5 separate regions of the Homo sapiens genome follow, and all the other regions are linked to region 3. Evidence: promoter capture Hi-C in 16 types of primary human blood cells and fetal thymus (Javierre and others, 2016). All regions are on one chromosome and are shown on one strand. The core of a region is centred on a gene start or on the middle of the fragment in contact, and the rest is flanking DNA. Distances in the headings are between cores, read along the strand shown.

Evidence for each region. The method cuts DNA at HindIII sites, captures the fragments that hold promoters and counts their contacts. A CHiCAGO score of 5 or more calls a contact.
Region 1: a fragment that was not itself captured here is called in contact with the fragment with the promoter of POLR2B in region 3 in 2 of 17 cell types (activated CD4 T cells and naive CD8 T cells); the score reaches 6.2 in activated CD4 T cells.
Region 2: a contact is called between the fragment with the promoter of USP46 here and the fragment with the promoter of POLR2B in region 3, in 1 of 17 cell types (activated CD4 T cells). The highest score is 9.2, in activated CD4 T cells.
Region 4: a contact is called between a fragment that was not itself captured here and the fragment with the promoter of POLR2B in region 3, in 4 of 17 cell types (non-activated CD4 T cells, total CD8 T cells, fetal thymus and 1 more). The highest score is 8.0, in non-activated CD4 T cells.
Region 5: a fragment that was not itself captured here is called in contact with the fragment with the promoter of POLR2B in region 3 in 1 of 17 cell types (monocytes); the score reaches 6.5 in monocytes.

Annotation. Positions count from the first base shown.
Region 1 is chr4:52,706,819-52,710,696 of GRCh38, reverse strand. No RefSeq gene overlaps it. Among named protein-coding and RNA genes, the nearest start is that of DANCR, 3.6 kb to the left of the region's middle. The HindIII fragment of the contact is 5,324 bases long and covers 1-3,878 here.
Region 2 is chr4:52,657,067-52,660,978 of GRCh38, reverse strand. It overlaps USP46 (ubiquitin specific peptidase 46), which reads left to right and starts at 1,678. Exons shown (of 9, transcript NM_022832.4): 1 at 1,678-1,864. The coding sequence starts at 1,829. It overlaps USP46-DT (USP46 divergent transcript), which reads right to left and starts at 1,573. Exons shown (of 2, transcript NR_125363.1): 1 at 1,303-1,573; 2 at 1-87. RefSeq lists silencers at 1,265-1,694, 1,705-2,224. The HindIII fragment of the contact is 3,165 bases long and covers 1-2,973 here.
Region 3 is chr4:56,976,480-56,980,604 of GRCh38, reverse strand. POLR2B (RNA polymerase II subunit B) reads right to left here and starts at 1,709. Exons shown (of 25, transcript NM_000938.3): 1 at 1,601-1,709. The coding sequence starts at 1,619. It overlaps NOA1 (nitric oxide associated 1), which reads left to right and starts at 2,999. Exons shown (of 7, transcript NM_032313.4): 1 at 2,999-4,125. The coding sequence starts at 3,020. RefSeq lists enhancers at 1,336-1,435, 3,257-3,326, 3,707-3,766 and a silencer at 3,427-3,506. The HindIII fragment of the contact is 1,293 bases long and covers 523-1,815 here.
Region 4 is chr4:53,370,960-53,374,786 of GRCh38, reverse strand. It overlaps LOC105377654 (a long non-coding RNA gene), which reads left to right. Exons shown (of 3, transcript XR_007058118.1): 3 at 190-618. Among named protein-coding and RNA genes, the nearest start is that of FIP1L1, 4.8 kb to the left of the region's middle. The HindIII fragment of the contact is 2,399 bases long and covers 282-2,680 here.
Region 5 is chr4:53,354,213-53,357,739 of GRCh38, reverse strand. The region is part of intron 1 of SCFD2 (sec1 family domain containing 2); the gene reads left to right. Among named protein-coding and RNA genes, the nearest start is that of SCFD2, 10 kb to the left of the region's middle. The HindIII fragment of the contact is 7,385 bases long and covers 1-3,527 here.

The DNA of each region.
Region 1 (3,878 bases), core at 133-2,632, 4.3 Mb after region 3:
ATAGGAAAAGAGAAGTAAATCTCCTTAGTAAAGAGACTAATGCAGGAATTCAGCAGCAACCTAGCAGGGGCTGGGGGTAGTTGTGCAGAATGTCTTCCCTCCTCCCCAAATCAGGGGATAAAAATGGGAAGGAATTATGAAAGAATTATATTTGTGTTTGATTTAAGAGAAATTCACCTTAATCTGAAGGCTTCACATTTCTGGCCAAATACCTCAATTCAATGAACTTACAAACAGTTCATTCGAAATAGTAAAACTGTTCACTGGGCTTAGAGGAGAAATGTCTATTAAATACAGAGACAATAGAACAAAATAAACTGATTTATAATTGCTTTTGAGTTAGGTTCAAGATAATATATATTTGGTACTAAAAATCCTTATAATGCAGTTTAAAGAGAATTGTTTCAATTGGGTTTATTATTAGGCCTAATTTTTTTAGAGAAATTAGTATGTCTAATCAATCCTTCTTTCTTTCTTTTCTTTCTTTCTTTTCTTTCCCTCCCTCCCTCCCTTCCTTCCTTTTCTTTTCTCTCTCTCTCTCTTTCTTGCTCTCTCTCTCGTCTCTCTCCCTCTCCCTTTCTTTTCCCTTTGACAGGGTCTTACTCTATCACTCAGGCTAGAGTGCAGTGGCACAATCATAGCTCACGGGTCAGGCTCCAACTCCTAGGCTTAAGTGATCCTCCCACCTCAGCCTCCCAAAGCATTGGCATTACAGATGTGAGCCACCACGACTGGCCAATCTGTCCAATTTGAGGGAGTTCAGTCTCTCCAAATTTAATCTGTCGGAAGTTGAATAAAGGGACCTAGAAGAATACCCACCAGCCCTCCAGATATTCTCAGCTGGATTTCCCAGAGACACCACAAAATCACTCTTTTGGCCCAGAATTTATTCTCTTCTTCCACCCCTCCACTTCCTTTTTGTGTCCTCTGTCTTGAAGAATAACAATTCCTTAGCCCAGCTGTCCAGGACTTAGCGCAAATGCTTTCCTTTCTCAGTCTCCTCCTCCATTTCTCAGCCTCCTACTTCCTCATCTTCTTCCATGCGGGCAGTTCTTCCTATTGACCACCATGACTCTGCCTCTTCTTTCCAGCCCTTGCTTGTACTTTAGTTCTAGCTCCATCATTTACTTTCAGCATCATCCACTGCAGTAGCCTCCACCTTCATTCAGCTTCCCTGTCTCCAGTGTTCCCTTCCCCATGAATTCTTCCACACTGCTGTCATCTCCATTGGAAATTGTTAAATGGCTCTTTACTGCCACCAGAAACAAAACCAACCTCCACCTATCTACTTCCTCCTCTCACTTCCCACATACCTATTATAATCCAACCATGCTGAACTAATGGCAGTCCCCTGAATGCTGTCCAGCACTCTCCCATACAACTTTCTGCAGTGATGGAAATGTTCTATATCTCTGCTGTCCAGTATGGTAGCCACATGTGGCTATTGAGTACTTGAAATGTGACTAGCACAACACAAGACCTGGATCTTAAACTTCATTTACTTTTAACTAATTTAAATTTAAATAGTCATGCTGGGCCTGGTGGTGGTATGCCTATAATCCCAGCTACGTGGGCAGAAGTCTGAGGTGGGAGGATCCCTTGAGGCCAGAAGTTTGAGGTTGCAGTGTGCTCAGACAGTGCCTGTGAATAGCCACTGCACTCCAGCTGCCGCAATATAGCAAGACTCCATCTCTACAGAAAAAAAAAATTAGCCAAGCATGGCAGAACAGGCCTGTAGTCCCAGCTACTCAGGCAGCTGAGGCAAGAGGATCACTTGAGCTCAGGATTCAAGGCTGCAGTGACCTATGATGGCACTACAGCACTCCAGACTGGGTGACAGAGCAAGACATCTAAGATAAATAAATAGATAAAAATAAAAGTCACATGTGGCTGGTAGATACTACATTGAACTGCACAATAGTTTACATCCTTGCTTCTCAAAGCGTGGTCCATCAGCCTGGGCATTCCCTGGAAACTTGTAGTAATGCATAATCTCAGGCCTCATCCCAGATCTGCTGATTCGGAATCTATATTTCAACAAGATCCCCAGGTGATCTGTATGCACATTAAAGTTTCAAGAGCCACAGCTCTAATAAGCTCTTGCTTCCTTGCCTTTGCATGTGGTGTTCTCTTCGTCTGGGCTGCCTGTCACCTGTTCTTTTTTCCTTAACTCCTACTTATCCCTAGACCTATCTACACTCACAACCTGCTGTTAATATGGTAATCCAGAGGGTAGGGGATGAAGGATATGGGGGAGAGGAGTGAGAGGGAAGGAGAAAATATCTATGATAAAACCACTTGTATCTTGTAATCTTAAATAACTATATGTATGTAGCTATATAATATAAATACATACATACTATGTATATATTTATAGTATAGTATGTATATATGTATAGTATTCTATGTATATACATGTACAAGTATAGTTTGTGTGTGTGTGTGTGTGTGTGTGTGTGAAAATATGGTTACTACAATGTCAGTGGTATTTCTCTCAAGGTGATGGGATTTCATGTGTCTTACTTTCTAAAAATATTTTTGAGGTATCATTCAAATTCTTTACAAAGAGCATGTATTACTGATATAATAATTTTCATTACAGAAAACAAAATAAGGGCTATATTAGCCTTTTGTAAGTAACTTCAAGAACACGATATCGGAATAAAGTATAGCGTTTTACAAAAAAGGAGAGCCCCCACCTTCCACAGTTAGAGACACTCCCTTGTCTACAACACAAGAGCGGGCAGTAGGCATGGCATAGGCAACAACCAACCTGAAAGCAGAAGAATGATCTCTTGTGATGCCTCCACTGCTGTCTCCTGTGTCTACCCTCCCACCCCCACAGCAGACATGGTCCTAGCACCACGACAATCACCTCTTCTCCATCCCCTGCCTGACTCCTAGCTAGGGCTGGAGTCTGAAAAGGGGCCTTAGGTGTACAGAGAAGGTCACCTGGAATCACTAGAAGCATCTGCAGAAGTATATGGATATGTTGGGTGACTCAGATGACATCTCGTTTGGTCCTTAGCATCAAGGTTTTGTTCTATCAAATATTCTATTAAGAACGAATGTTTTCATTTTTTGGCTATTGTATTTCTTTTCTAAATTTTGGCAATTTTTTCTTTACTGAAAAAAAGATGACAATTACCTGAGAGGTTATTTTAAATTCATGGCAAAATGTGTTTTGCTGAGCTATGGGATGCAATTTCTGCAGATCTTAGTGTGCTCAGCTGTGGAAGTCAGTTATAGGGTATAGAGTTCTGGTGGTAGGGTAAGGCCCAAAAAGCCACCAGAATGAATAGAGGAGACAACATAGCCTGGAGCCAAGACATAGTTTATATTCTGCACAGTAACTAATTTGCAAAAATAACAGGATGTTGTGAAATTTGATTAAGCAGCAAGGTGAGGGAGGCATTTTGGGGGGTTAGATCAAATTATTATTATTAAGGGTATTGTACAAGTTCCAATTCAATTCTAAAGATAGAAGGAAATTTATATTCTTTATTTTAAAACAAGTTGGCTTATCTAAATAAGTAACAAACTCAGTGTTTTATTTTATTTATTTATTTATTTATTTATTTATTTATTTATTTTGAGACGTGGTCTTGCTGTGTCGCTAGAGCTGGAGTTCAGTGGCACGATCTGGGCTCACTGCAACCTCTGCCTACCAGGTTCCAGCAATTCTCATGCCTCAGCCTCCTGAGTAGCTGGGATTACAGGCGCCCGCCACCACGCCTGGCTAATTTTTGTATTTTTAGTAGAGACGAGTTTCGCCAAGTTGGCCAAGATGGTCTCAATGTCTTGACTTCGTGATCCACCTGCCTCAGCCTCCCAAAGTGCTGGGATTACAGGCATGAGCCACTGTGCCCGGCCCAAAA
Region 2 (3,912 bases), core at 429-2,928, 4.3 Mb after region 3:
CCCAGGTTACCACACCAACTTAATCTGTAACATTTCGGTAAGTCATCTGGGCAGGATCCTTGATCCTCTAAGCCTTATGTGACTGATCTGCAAAAAAGGAGATAATAGCATGTACCAGCTGATAGTTATGGTGGCGATTAAAGGAGATCAGGAATGTAAACATTGGGTGCAGTGGTTCACGCCTGTTGTCCCAGCGCTTTGGGAGGCCAAGGTGGGATGATTGCTGGAGCCCAGGAGTTTGGGATGACTCGGGGCTGCCCAGCCTCAGGCTGGGCAACATAGCGAGAACCTGTCTCTTAAAAAACAGAGAGAGAGAGAAGAAAATCAGTCATGACTTACAATGGAAGAAATTATCATCAGGATGTATTTGGAAATAATATTTAGGTTGAAAGACTTAAGCAGGAATATTATTTCTCATGTCCACTGGAAAACACAGTGACATGACTCCCAAAACCTTCAGTCAACAAGTCTGTCTTACTGTTTCCTCCCCAGATTCTAGGGATATTAGCAATCAACGGCTCTCAAATCTTTACTCTTGGTTAGATAAAAGCTATCTTCAACTAATTTTTCTTCTGATTCAATTTGTCATTAAATACACTGATCTAAGAATTTATCACGCATCTCACTTGTACAATTTCTCCTTTGAAAGCATCGAATTGCAACCTTGTATGTGTAACTGTTCCACACATTCAGAAACGGGCCCCTTCAATTCGCGTGGACCTATCTGCTAAGTGGTGCACAGACTCGCGCTCTGAGCCCGCAGCCACGACCTTTAATGCGGGAAATGTGCATGATCCCATACAGCGCCCATCTCAACAACTAGAGGCTGGGTGCACCCGAGAGGGGTATGCCTGCCTTGAAGATATGGAAAAGTTTTGTTTTCGTTCTTTCCACTCCTTGGACAGTCCCTAGTGCTTGCGCGGAACCGGGACGTCTCCTTTGGACCCGCTAATGTCACAAGCCGCCCGAGCGCGCCGCTGCTGGCCTCCGCCCAGACCCGGATTCCTCCCCCTTCCCGGCGCCCTTTCTCGGGCGCCCGGCCCGCAGCTGGCGAGGGCTCTCTGACCGCTCCGGTGTCCTCGCCCCATTTTACTTCTTGGGTCCCCGCCGGTGCCATCTGGTTGGAACCCTCGGGAGGAACTAAAAGTTGGACGTCGCCACCCCTACCCCTCGCCAAAAAATAAACACCGGGGGCTGCCGAGGCCCGCCAGGAGGAAGGCGACGAGGAAAAAGCGAGGACGGAAGGCGGCCCCGGGTTCGCCCCGGCCTGGGCCGCCCGCTTCCCCACCCCGCGCACCGTACCGTCCCCGGCTCCCTGGCTCCCCGACGGCGAGGAGGGCCGCCGCTTCCGCGTCGGGGTCGGCCGGGGGACCTGCGAGGTGCGGCTGCCGCAGCGGCGCGCCCCGGAGCCTGGCCCGGCATTCCAGTCCGAATAGAAAGAGGCAGGGAATCAAATGGAAAAGCAGGAGGCCAGGCCTGGGCGGGCGAGCTGGGAAGGAGGCGGCGCGGCGGGGCCCGGGAACCCAGCCTGGAGCGCTCTGAGCGGCCGGCTCGGACTCACGCGGCGCGCCCGGGCCGCCCCTCCTCCCCGCGCCGCCGGCCGCGGCCCAGGCTCCCTCGCTCCGCCACTCCCCGCCCCTCCGCGCTCCCTCCCCGCCCTCCCCGCGCCGCCGCCTCCTCCTCCCGGCCTCCCTCTCCCAGCCAAACTGAAAGCCGGACCCCAGGCCGCCGCGCTGCCGCCCGGCCTCCCCGCCAGCGCGCCACCATGGGCAGTCCCGGTTTCCCCTTGTAAAGATGGCGGTGAGGGATCGCTGCAACCTTTAGACTAATGACTGTCCGAAACATCGCCTCCATCTGTAATATGGTGAGTGGCCGAGCCGCCTCGGGGTCGCGCCCGACTCGCGGCGAGGCAAAGAAAGGGAAGCCCGAGCTGCACACACGCCCGGTGGCTGGGGCGGCGGGGGCGGCGGGGTCCGCGCCGCCAGAAGTTCCCGGCCCCCGAGCTGGGCGCGCGGCCGCAGCCACCTCAGCGGCCGGGGAGGGTCCCCGAGCCCCCGGCGCCCGTCTCAGCCCCGGGACCTCGGAACCCGCCCGGCGATCCCGGGGCCGCGCTGCTGCGCCCCCCGCCCTCGGGTTGCGGTGGAAGCGGCTTGAGGGAAGGGAAGCGACCGAACCTGAACGTCCCCGGGGAGGGGGTGGGGGATAAGCTGGAGGTGGGGGGCACCCATCCTCTTCTTGCGGTCAAGACAGCCTTATTGGACGTCCAGACTGCCCTCATCTCATTTTGAGTTCAGTCCTTCCGAGGTGTTTAAAATTCACTTTGCAATAGCAATTGTGTATCTGGAGAAATCGGAAATGTAATAAAGCTGTAAAAAAAGTGCAAAATTGTGGCTGGAGAAGTGAACTTCAACCTGGTTTGAAAAAGCACCGTAATTTGCTCCGCATGCCTCAGTTTCCCCATCTGTGAAAAAGGGACAAGGCTCTGTGGCGGTAATATTTGCAGGCCCTAAGGGTGGGGCGGGCTGTGGGCTTGGAGGAGGTCTCCAGGGTTATCCTGCCTGATCCGCTGTAGACCTAGGGGAGGCTGGCGGGCATGGATACAGCCAGGGACATCACTGGGTTCTGATGCAGTCCGAGCCCATGATGCGGTGGTCACTTTAATTTGGGTTTCCCCCATTGCTTTCCCTTTTTCTGTAGGAAGAACCTCCAGCCCTTGGGTCCCCAGGCTGGACCCTGCTGGCGCCTCCACTTGTCAGAGCCTTTGGGGAGCTCAGATTGGAGTAAGGCATTGCTGTCCCTTGCAGGGTGAGATGATGTGTGTTTTGCCTACATTCTTTAGACTGCACCCCGCCTCCCCTCTAGCCCCCTCCCAAGCGGGTCCCCGGAGGCAACACGTGCTCTTACAGTGCCAGTTTGAGGAAAACCTCCCTTGAAGCTAGTAATACTGGCCCCTAAAGGGAATCCAAGGAAGCTTGATGGAGAAGCCCTGGTGTAAGGTGATCTGGCTGCCCTTCCCCCATCACATAGCTTTTTAAATCTTCTGTCCCACATTCTGTTGCAAGATCAACACATGGCAAAGGAGCATTAAGAAGCCTTGTGTTAGCTCAGGGGTGGAATTGAGACCCGCTGGCTTCAGCTTTCAGCACAATGGGACGTGCCACTGTCACGGCCAGCAAAGCAAATGCTGGGGCCTCCCAGAGTGATAGCTGCACAGGTACTGGTTGGTGCCGGGCGAGTTCCATACGGGGAGTGGATCCTAGAGCCTTTCTGTTTTCTCTTTTTTTCCTTTCTCTGCGAGGAGTCAGATTTCCTCTTATTCCTGTGGAGGGGCTGCTTGTGAAGAGGTGATGCCTTCTCAGTTTCTCTCCTACGACCAGTTCCTGAGGGAACTGTGAATCGGGAGCAGCTTGAATACTCTTTTATGTCTGTTGGTGTGGCCGCAGGCCTAAGGATACTACAGGGTAGTGAGGCTCCGACCCAGCCCTTGGTGGTGTTCTTGTCCTGCTTGTGTGTGGTTACACCTCTCTGTGTAGAAGCAGGCTGGAAACTTGAGAGCTAGCATGCCCCTAGAGGAAGCCAGCCCCCAACCTCCCCCCACGCGTCCCCCCACCCACCCTCAGTGCTGCGGGGGCTTTCTGGCACACCTGGGCTGAATGTCACAACGTGTTTCAGTGAAACTCAGTCAGGGAGACAGGGTGTGGGGAGGACCTGAGAGGAGCAGGCCAATACTGCCCTGAGAGTTGACATCTCAGGTGGAGACCTAAAAAGGTACCAAATTTAGGACCATCACCCAGATGAAGTGAGGAACCAGTAATTCATTAAGTAAGGAGTCTGATGTTGTATTTAGACGCCATGTCTAGAGAGTGACAGAGTTTGGGTTCTAATGTCAGACTTCCTGGGTTCAGGTCCTGG
Region 3 (4,125 bases), core at 460-2,959:
GGGACTATAGGTGAGCAAGACCACGCCCAGCTAATTTTTCTATTTCTTATAGAGAGGGGTCTCCCATGTTGCCCAGGCTGCTCTCGAACTCCTGAGCTCAAGTAATCCACCCGCCTCAGACTCCCAAAATGCTGGGATAACAGGCGTGAGCCACTGCACCAGCCACCCCACTTTAACATTTTTAAATTTTCTGGCTTGTGAGCTATGAGAATATATTACCCAGCCAAAAATTATGCTTTAAAAATCTTTTTTTTCGAATTTTTCTTCTACTGAGATAGTAGTTAAAAAAGAACAAGGAATATAATGATGCTAATAAATTTCTACAACACAAGATATAAATGAGACAGAAGTTTAAACAGCTTTAAAAGTTTAAGCTTTTGGCTGGGCACATTGGCTCATGCTTGTAATCCCAGCACTTTGGGAGGCCGAGACAGGCAGATGGTTTGACCTCAGGAGTTTGAGACCAGCCTGGGCAACATGGCCAGACCCCATCTCTTAAAAAAAAAAAAAAAAAATTAAGCTTTTGCTTCAATTTTTTCCATCTGATTTATCAGAAGTACCTGAGGGAATAGAGAGAGGAGATGTAGGGGGTGGCCAAGGAATTGAGAGCTATAAGAAAATAAGGTTTGAATTAGCAGATATGGAGAATGGAAAAGGCGGCTACGAAAATACACTAGACTCAACTAAGAATTTTTTTTTTTTTTTTTTGAGACAGTCTAACTCTGTCACTCAGGCTGTGGTGTAGTGGTGCGATCTCAGCTCACTGCAAACTCCGCCTCCTGGGCTCAAGCGATCGTCCGGCCTCAGCCTCCCGAGTAGCTGGGATTACAGGCGCACGCCATCACACTAGGCTAATTTTTGTATTTTTAGTAGATACAGGATTTCCCCATGTTTGTCAGGTTGGTCTCAAGCGATCTGCACATCTCGGCCTCCCAAAGTGCTGACGGGAGCCACCGCGCTCGGCCACTACTAAGAATTCCATATGCGCAAACAAACAGGTATTATACATTGGCCCAGTGCAGCAGAATACATATCATCTGAGAACTGTGACATTGTGAGAAGAGGAAGTTAAAAGTCATCCTTTAAGACAATTTACTTTGACTTACAAACAGTATGAAGAAATGTCAGACTAAACCGAGTCCCCCCCGCCACCCCCACCCCCCGATATTCTCTGTCCCGGAATATTTCCAGGACCTTCCACACTGCCTGACACAGGCTGACACTCAACAATTGAGCTATTCGTTAAGTCGACTGTGGCTTTAAGGAAAATTTTTAAAGGGTGCCCTTTGCTTCAAATTCAAAACGTAATTTATCTTACGATTCTGCACGCTACTTCACCACAGGAAACGAGGATCAGATCTAACGGAACGAGAAAGTGCAGAGAGCAGCAGTGAACGTAACCTGGAACATTAACACTATGTTCCCTGCACCCTCCGCCTCTCCCTACCCCAGTTTCGTTCCCGGCCTGGTAAGTGTGGGAACAAGGCTGGGGACTGTGCAGCCGGCGCATGGGAAGGCCCCAAATCCTCAATCCAATCAGTTCCCAACGCTTTCCTGCTTAAATGGACCGCCACGGCGTGTGTTTTGAGCGTTCACCTACCCTCATCCGCGTCGTACATATTGCCAAACGGTTCTCGAGCTCCTAACTCTTGAAATCAAAAGACAAAAACCGCCCAGAAGCCAGCAGCGCCAGGAGCTAAAGACGAAGTAACTTCCGTCTCCGACGTTCCCAGAATACCACGCGTCTCACACCAAAGGCCGCCCACAGGGACGCCAAAGTTAGGATCTGCGCCTGCGCAAATTGTAGGTCAAGCTTGGGCCGGGGTTAGGGTTGCACACGCGTAAATTGTGGGCCGCCGCTGCCGGGCTGATTGAGAGGACAGCTCCCGCAATCTGCGGTCGTATCCGTTCCGTCAATGTTTTATTTCTGCTTGTTTTTCAATGTTGTTGCACAAATAACGACACCTGAAAACAAAACCAGGTATACTTATTATTAAAAAGTGTTCGTCCTGTGAATCCGCAACATTGGGATGCTCAATTTATTTGCCTTTATAAGGACCAAAACACGAAGCTATTTTTTATTTTTATTTATTTATTATTTTTTGAAATGGAGTCTCGCTCTGTCGCCCAGGCTGGAGTGCAGTGGAGCGATCTCGGCTCACTGCAACCTCCGTCTCCCGGGTTCAAGCGATTCTCCTGCCTCGGCCTCCCAAATAGCTGGGATTACAGGCAAGGGTCACCACGCCCGGGTAATTTTTGTATTTTTAGTAGAGACGGGGTTTCACCACGTTGGCCAGGCTGGTCTCGAACTGCTGACCTCAGGTGATCCACCCGCCTCGGCCTCCCAAAGTGCTGGGATTACAGGCGTGAGCCACGCGCCCGGCCGGAAGCTCCTTTCTGTTTTTGTTTTGTTTTGTTTTTTTGAGACAGGCTCGCTCTGTCGCCCAGGCTGGAGTGCAGTGGCGCGATCTCGGCTCACTGCAACCTCCGCCTCCCGCGTTCAAGCCATTCTCCTGCCTCAGCCTCCCGAGTAGCTGGGACTACAGGCGCCCGCCACCACGCCTGGCTAATTTTTTGTATTTTTAGCAGAGATGGGGGTTTCACCGTGTAAGCCAGGATGGTCTCGATCTCCTGACCTCATGATCCGCCCGCCTCGGCCTCCCAAATTGCTGGGATTACAGGCGTGAGCCACCGCGCCCGACCCCGGAAGCTCCTTTTTAAGTGTGATTTATTAAGGGCGGCTTGTGCTAGCAGTGAGGCGTTAAGCCTGAAAGTGAAAAAACCCAAAACACTCACTGCTCTTTTCTGCCCACCTAGCTCAATCCTCCAGTGCCTTTGCCATAGCTTTAAGTAGGTTCTCAGTCTCAGAGCTTAAATCGCGAGAACTGACGGGATTAGACGCAAAACCAACCAGGACAGCTCCCAAGTACCCACGCGCTTTCGTCTCGGGTCAAATGCGCGCCTCGGACCCTAGTGCGCGTGCGCGCTGGTGGCTCCGCCCCTTTGGAGCTACTTCCTCATGCTGCCCGCTCGCCTACCGTTCAGGCTGCTGAGCCTTTTCCTTCGTGGATCCGCTCCCACGGCAGCGCGCCATGGCCTCCGGGAGCCGCTCCTGGAGAGGAGGTGCGCTGCCGCCTCCTCCTTCCAGCACTCATCGAGTCTGGGACGCGAGCTTCCTTATGACCCCGTGGACACGGAGGGCTTTGGAGAAGGTGGTGACATGCAGGAGCGTTTTCTGTTCCCGGAGTACATCCTGGATCCGGAGCCGCAACCCACCCGCGAAAAGCAGCTGCAGGAGCTCCAGCAACAGCAGGAGGAGGAGGAGCGACAGAGGCAGCAGCGGCGGGAGGAGCGGCGACAGCAAAACCTACGGGCCAGGTCCCGGGAGCACCCGGTCGTGGGGCACCCGGACCCGGCATTGCCGCCCAGCGGCGTGAACTGCTCGGGCTGTGGGGCAGAGCTGCACTGCCAGGACGCCGGAGTGCCCGGCTACCTGCCCCGAGAGAAGTTCCTCCGCACGGCGGAGGCAGACGGCGGGCTGGCACGGACCGTGTGCCAGCGCTGCTGGCTGCTGTCGCACCACCGGCGCGCTCTACGCCTGCAGGTGAGCCGCGAGCAGTACCTGGAGCTGGTGAGCGCCGCGTTGCGGCGGCCCGGCCCCTCCCTGGTGCTCTACATGGTGGACCTGCTGGACCTGCCCGACGCCCTGCTGCCCGACTTGCCCGCGCTGGTGGGCCCCAAGCAGCTGATCGTGCTGGGAAACAAAGTGGACCTCCTGCCCCAGGATGCTCCTGGCTACCGGCAGAGGCTGCGGGAGCGACTGTGGGAGGACTGTGCCCGCGCCGGGCTCCTGCTGGCCCCTGGCCACCAAGGGCCACAGCGCCCCGTCAAGGACGAGCCACAGGACGGGGAGAATCCGAATCCGCCGAACTGGTCCCGCACAGTGGTCAGGGACGTGCGGCTGATCAGCGCCAAGACCGGCTATGGAGTGGAAGAGTTGATCTCTGCCCTTCAGCGCTCCTGGCGCTACCGTGGGGACGTCTACTTAGTGGGCGCCACCAACGCCGGCAAATCCACTCTCTTTAACACGCTCCTGGAGTCCGATTACTGCACTGCCAAGGGCTC
Region 4 (3,827 bases), core at 232-2,731, 3.6 Mb after region 3:
AGTATAGTGCTTAACGCTGAGTAAATCTTCTTGGTCACTGTTGAAAGTAATAGAATGAAGTCTTATAGACTGTTTATGAGTATCGTAAGGCAATCACTCACAGTCCTGTCTATTGATCGTTCTATTTATTTAATTGGTTTCATGAGAAAACCAATTGCCTTTTGTTAAGGGATCTTTTTCTGTTTTCAGCTGCCTTTCAAGGCATTGCTTAAACATAACTGAAGAAATGATGAACAATACTAGAATAGCTTTTGTGGTGGAGGTAGCATTTGAGCTAAGCTTTGAAAATGAAGATTTCCACAAGCAAAGAAGCACATAAATCACTAATAACTACTCTGAAAAGACCTCTTCCTCCTTGCTTCTAAGCTGAGTTTCTTGCCTGAATATGCTTTCTTAGTTAAAGGTATCTTTCTCTCCCTGCTCACCAGGGGAGACATCAAAGGTAGGTAGTTTGAAGATATTATATATTCCTCCTTCCATTTCTTATATTATGACCTTATCAAACTACAGTGCTCCATATATTCTATTTGTTTTCCATTTTATTGTTGTTTTGTGGTCTGTTGGTTTCTGGCAAAAAAAATTAAAAGATAAGTTTTAATATACTTATCTCTGAGAAGTACTGAGAGTGTTTAGTAGATGATGATGAGTTAAATGATGACAAGAATTGGAGATCAAATAAAAATGCCTTGCTCACTATCCAGTATATATAGCAAGTACACATAAATGTGTTTGGCATGCATATGATGTTTATGCCCAACTGTGCTCTTTGCTGTCACATAAATTTCAATGTTCTTAAATTCTCAATGTTCTTAAGTTTCCTCAGCAGTAAATTGATACATTAAAATGACATTTGTACCAATATTGGGGAAGAATAACAAAGCTAAATTGAGGTTTCAAATGTCAAAGCATCTAGCCAGGCACGGTGGCTCACGCCTGTAATCCCAGCACTTTGGGAGGCCGAGGCAGGCGGATCACCTGAGGTCAGGAGTTCAAGACCAGCCTGCTCAACATAGTGAAACATTGTTTCTACTAAAAACACAAAAATTAGCTGGGCATTGTGGCACGCACCTGTGATTCCAACTACTCAGGAGGCTGAGGCAGAAGAATCGCTTGAACCCAGGAGGAGGAGGTTGCAGTGAGCCAAGATCCCATCATTGCACTCCAGCCTGGGCGACAGAGCAAGACTCCGTCTCAAAAAAAAAAAAAAGTCAAAGCATTTGACAAGTTATTGACAAGCAGGTAACATGTTGTTTAGGACTTTTCTTCTTTGAACAAGCAAAGTAATTGTACGTGTGTAGAGCTTTCCTTCCTCTTTATGTACTTCCATGATAAATTAAACCCCAATTAGCCATCTTCCTCTACATCCTGACATCTTTTAACAATAAACTTTACCTAGTCCTAAGTTTAGCTCATCAAAAAAGAAAAAATAAATTTTCTATTGCTAGTTGTTTCTGGAAAATTGTATTATTTCCTATTCATGTCTGTGCTGTCAGTAAACTTCGCATACTCTTTTTAAAGGTGAGAACAAAATCGTTTTATTTCTGTATTTGCCAGGTCCTCTCTTACAACATCAAGTACATGGAAAGTTCTTAAGCTAAGAACTGATCATGCCTATGGATGACCTAGAAATGAGGTGAAGAGAGATATGTTGGATTTTGGACAGAAGAGAAACAATAGCTGACTATTTTGAGCAGAGAAATACAAATCACATTTTAATAAAATAAACATGACGGTCTTAAGCAGGTCATTTTAATAGGAATTCATTTTACTCCACCATAACATCTGAAAGCAAGAAATGACTTTTGCCTGGGCTCTCCTACCTTTTCTGTCCACCCTGTCTCCCAAGTCATTTCCTCCAGCTTCATGACTTTTATTTATGTACATATGTATGTATGTATTTACTTATTTATTGAGACGGAGACTCACTCTGTCACCCAGGCTGGAGTGCAGTGGCATGATCTTGGCTCACTACAACCTCCCCCTGTCAGGTTCAAACAATTCTCCTGCCTCAGCCTCCCCAGTAGCTGGGATTACAGGTTCATGTCACCATGCCCAGCCAATTTTTGTATCTTTAGTAGAGATGAGGTTTCACCATGTTGACCAGGCTGGTCTCGAATTCCTGACCTCAAGTGTTCTGCCCACCTCAGCCTCCCAAAGTGCTGAGATTACAGGTCTGAGCCCCACGCCTGGCCTCCATGACTTTTAATGTCATGTCATTGAGAGCCACTGACACCCATATTTCTCTGGGCAGTCTTAACTTCTCTTTGAGCTCAAGATACTCGGTCTGACTCAAATGCTTCACCTGATGCCTCTCTTAGGCCTTTAAAACTTATGTTCAAAACACAACTTATAAATTTCTCTCCCATATCTGTCTTGTCCCACTCCCATACTCCCAAAGACTTCTTCATATTAATATCAGTAACCACCATTTAACTAGTTGTTTTAGCCATAAATCAAAGAATTATCCTTGACTTTTCTGTCTTCCCCATCTGCTCTTCTCACAACTATGCAAATCAGTTAGCAAGATCTGTTAGTGCTTCTCATTAAAACGTATCTCAAATCTATCTACTTCTTTCCATCTGCACTGCCACACTGAAATTCTAGGAACACAAAACCCTTCCGTGGCCTTCTCTTAAATATGAAATAAAATCTAAACTTCCTACCATATGGCCTACAAGCTTCTTCACGGTCTGACAGTCCCTCAAGTTGCATGTGGCTATACAGGCTCTGCATTGCACAACTTTTAGGGGTGTCTGTATCACCTCATTCTTAGTCATCATTTGTCAAATCTTTTAATGTTTTCCCTCATATCACTGCTATAGTCTAAATTTTTGTGTTTCTCCAAAGTTCATATGCCTAAACCTTAATCCTCAATGTGATGGTGTTTGGATATGGGGATTTTGTGAGGTAATTAAGTCCTCCCTAATGGAGAGGGGTTTGGACTTTCATAAGAAAAGACAGGAGAGCTTGCTTCCTCTCTGCCTGCTTTTCACCAACTGAGAATACAGCACAAAGGTGGCCAGCCATTGGTGAGCCAGAGAGAGGGCTGCCATTAGAAATGAATTATGTGAGCACCTTGATTTTGTACTTTCCAGTCTCCAGAACAGTGAGAAATAAACTTTCTTTGCTTATGTCACCCAGTCTATGGTATTTTTGTTGTGACAGCCCAAACTAAGACAGTCTCTGTGCTTATTCCCTCCAAGTTCTTCCAGACCTGATCCCCAACTCTGCATTTAGCTCTCAGTCCCTACCTTTGTTCCATTTTATGTGCATGCCCAACAGTTTCAGTATTTTAGCAGAAGGATGTCTCTACTTGTTCACTAAACCAAAATCTAACTTCCCTCCAAGGACAGGACTTCTCCTTATCTTTCTATACTGAATATCTGCCATTATCCTTCACCCTGTTGTACTGTGAATGCTTGAGATAGTGCTGTCATTCCCCCGGTTCTTGTGGACCACTACCAGGCCATTACGGTTCCCATTTTGCTGTGAAAAAACCTTCCTCTTTTCCAGCTCATACCATTTGTATTTACCACCTCTTCTCCTTTTTCATTTTCCTTCAACTACAAGTGATATCTGCGGTTGAAGTCCACAGTCTTCCTTTCCTCCATCATGATGTGTGACTTGCATATGTTGCTTGACTCATGTTTTCTGACCTTCTGGAGTCTAATGGTCTTCATTCACTCTACTTCCTTAGGGCACATTCAGGGTTATACCCTGGATCTTATTATATCCTAGAATTTTTCCCTCCTTGGCTGGGCGCAGTGGCTCACACCTGTAATCCCAGTGCTTTGGGAAGCCAAGGTCAGAATATGGTTTGAGCCCAG
Region 5 (3,527 bases), core at 439-2,938, 3.6 Mb after region 3:
TTTTTTCTCCCCGATCTGCTTTTCCAAAACATGCAAACTAACTAACTTATATCTTTATTTCAGGGTTCAGAAGATACTATTTAAAATAAATAGGTATGAGACACAGTTGGGAAGCCATATAAAGGCTGACTAGATTTTTGGTGTTAGATCCATGCCAGGATAACCTCACATCCTGGCTTAGTGACTTTTTTTGTGCTATTTGACCCTCATTGAGCTGTTGAGGTTTTCTCATTTGTAAAGAGGGAAAAATATCCACCTGTTTTTGTATTCTAACCTGTGGGAAGAATATGAAATAATTCCTTTTTTTTTTTGAGACAGAGTCTTGCACTATTGCCCAGGCTGGTATGCAGTGGCTCAATCTCAGCTCACTGAAACCTCCGCCTCTTGGATTCAAGCGATTCTTGTGCCTCAGCCTCCTGAGTGGCTGGGATTATAGGCACATACCTCTATACCTGGCTAATTTATATATATATATTTTTTAGTAGAGATGGGGCTTTACCATGTTGGCCAGACTGGTCTTAAACTCCTGACCTCAAGTGACCCTCCCACCTCAGCCTCCCAAAGTGCTGAGATTACAGGCATCAGCCACCGAGCCTGGCTTGAAATAATTCCTTCATTCAAAAATACATATTATCTATTACTCAAGGAATAGGGGAAATAGTGCTAAAAATATCCAAATCCTTCCAGTTAGGAAGTTTAAATTTTGTTTGGGAATGAAGACAGTAAACAAATTACTAATATCAGTATAATAATATGGGCTATTAATATTAATGAAGGTAGGTGTGGTGGTTTAAAAATATGTCTACAACCCTGTCTCTACTAAAAAATACAAAAAATTATCCGGGCGTGGTGGCAGGCGCCTGTAGTCCCAGCTACTCCGGAGGCTGAGGCAGGAGAATGGCGTGAACCGAGGAGGTGGAGCTTGCAGTGAGCCGAGATCGCGCCACTGCACTCCAGGCTGGGTGACAGAGCAAGACTATGTCTCAACAAAAAAAAAAAAAAAAAAAAGTCTACAAGTTGGGTGTGGTGACTCACACCTGCAACCCCAGCACTTTGGGAGGCCAAAGTGGTGGATCACTTGAGCCCAGAAGTTCGAGACCAGCCTTGGCAATATGGTGAAACCCCATCTCTACAAAAAATACAAAAAATTAGCTGGGCATGGTGTTGCATGCTGTAGTGCCAGCTCTTCAGGAGGCTGAGGTGGGAGGATCACCTGAGTCTGGGAAATCTAGGCTGCAGTGAGCCATGATTGAGCCACTGCACTCCTGCCTGGGCAACAGAGCAAGACCTTGTCTCTCTCTCTCTATATATGTCTACAAATTCTTTGATACCTCTTCCTTCAAGAAATACAGTTTAAATTCCCCTGCCCTTGAGTGTGGGCTAGGTTTAGTGACTCACTTATCCCCTTCTCCCTAAAATAGCATAGGGCAGAAATGCAGAAGTGTAATTTTCAAGACCAGGTCCTAAAAGGTATTGCATCTTTTTCTTTGCTTTGTTCTTTTGGATCACTGGCTCTGAGGGAAGTTAGCTACCATGTCATGAAGAGACTCAAGCAGCCCTATGGGAGGCCCATGTAGTGAGGAAATGGGATTCCTTTCAACAGCCAATGAGGAACTGAGGCCTCCTGTCAATAGCTTTGTGAGTGAGCCATCTGAGAAATAGATCCTCCAGCCCAGTCAAGCATTCAGATGACTGCAGCCCCAGCTGACATATTGACTGCAATTTTATGAGAGTCTCTGAGTCAGACCCAGTTAAGCCACTCTGAATTCTTGGATGCATAGAAACAGTTGAGATTAATACATGTGGTTTTAAGACAGTAAGTTTTGAGAGGATGCGACATTTGAACAGAGGCCGAAAGAAGGGAGGAAGCATACCATGTGGCTACCTAATGATAGAACATATAAGATCCAGGGAATGGCAAGTGCAATGGGCCTAAGGTGGGAGCATGTGTGTCATGCTTGAGGACCACTAGGAGCCCAGTTTGGCTAAAGTGTTGTGAGCAAGAGGGAACACCGATAGGAGATCAGTTGGAGGGGTAGGTTGAGGGAATGCTTTGTAGGTTAAAATAAGGATTTAGAATAATAGCCAAAGTATAATGGGAATCAGTTGGAGAGTTTTGAGCTGTGATGTGATATGATCAAATTTATGTTATATAGGATCATTTATGTAAAGAGTATGAGGATTGAGGTAGATCCTCAATATATGGTAGCTACTGTTACTAAAGAGATTACGAGAGCTTAGTTATAGTAATCTTAGCTCTGCCCTTTCCTAGTCAAAAGTCCTTGGGCAAGTTGCCTAACTTCTGCCTCTCAGTTTCCTGATCTGTAAAATAAGGACCTCAGAGAGTAACTGAGAGGGTAAAATAAGTTAACATGTCTATCTTCTAGAATAGCTAGAGAAAAAAATGAAGTAGAGTAAGTGAAAGGTTCCCCCTGCATGATCCTGCAAGATCACTACAATTCTGGTTACTCAAGACAGTGTTAAAAATGGTATGAATGATCTCTGTTCATTTCATAAGCATATTAGTCAGGATTCTCCAGAGGGACAGAACTAACGGAATATATGTATTGAGCTCTTATGAAGACTTCTCAATGCTTGCTTCTCATTTTATTCCATATAAGACTTAAAGACAAGTGAAGATGTTACATGCCTTATGATAATGACACTGACACACATAAAATCCACAGGATCATACAGAATTGGTATTTTCTGGTCCCGGTAACTTGAAAAGTTTAGCCCTTGAAGCAATTGGCTTAATTTAGGATCTCAAATCCTTGAAGCAATTGGCTTAATTTAGGATCTCAAATCCTGGGAATAGTTTCAACTATCTGGGAAACTAAGGTGGGAGAGTTGCTTGAGCTCAGAGTTCAAGGCTACAGTGAGCTATGATTGCACTCCAGCTTGGGCAACAGAGTGAGACTCTGCCTCTAAAAAAAAGAAAAAAAAATAGAAGAAAAAGAAAAGAATATAAAAAAATTCAGCTTTAAAATTTCAGGATAGTATCATCTTATGACACTATTTACCTGACTGACTAGATACAGGTTATTTATTTATTCATTCATTAAGCAAATGCTTATTGATGCCTACTATATGTAGGCACTGTGCTAGTGAGAGGTGACAAAGTGTTAGCAGCCCTTGCTCGCTCTCAGTGCCTCCTCGGCCTCGGTGTCTGCTCTGGCCACACTTGAGGAGCCCTTTAGCCTGCCGCTGCACTGTGGGAGCCCCTCTCTGGGCTGGTTGAGGCCGGAGCCAGCTCACTTGGCTTGCCGGGAGATGTGGAGGAAGAGGCACGGGCAGGAACCAGGCCTGCACTGCGGCGCTGGCAGGCCAGTGTGAGTTCCATGTGGGCGTGGGCTCGGCGCGCCCCACACTTGGAGTGGCCGGCCGGTCCAGGCAGTGAGGGGCTTAGCACCTGGGCCAGCAGCTGCAGAGGGTGCGCTGGGTCCCCCAGCACTCCCAGCCCACCCACACCACGATTGAATTCTCGCCAGGCCTCAGCCACCTCCCCGCGGGGCAGGGCTTGGTAC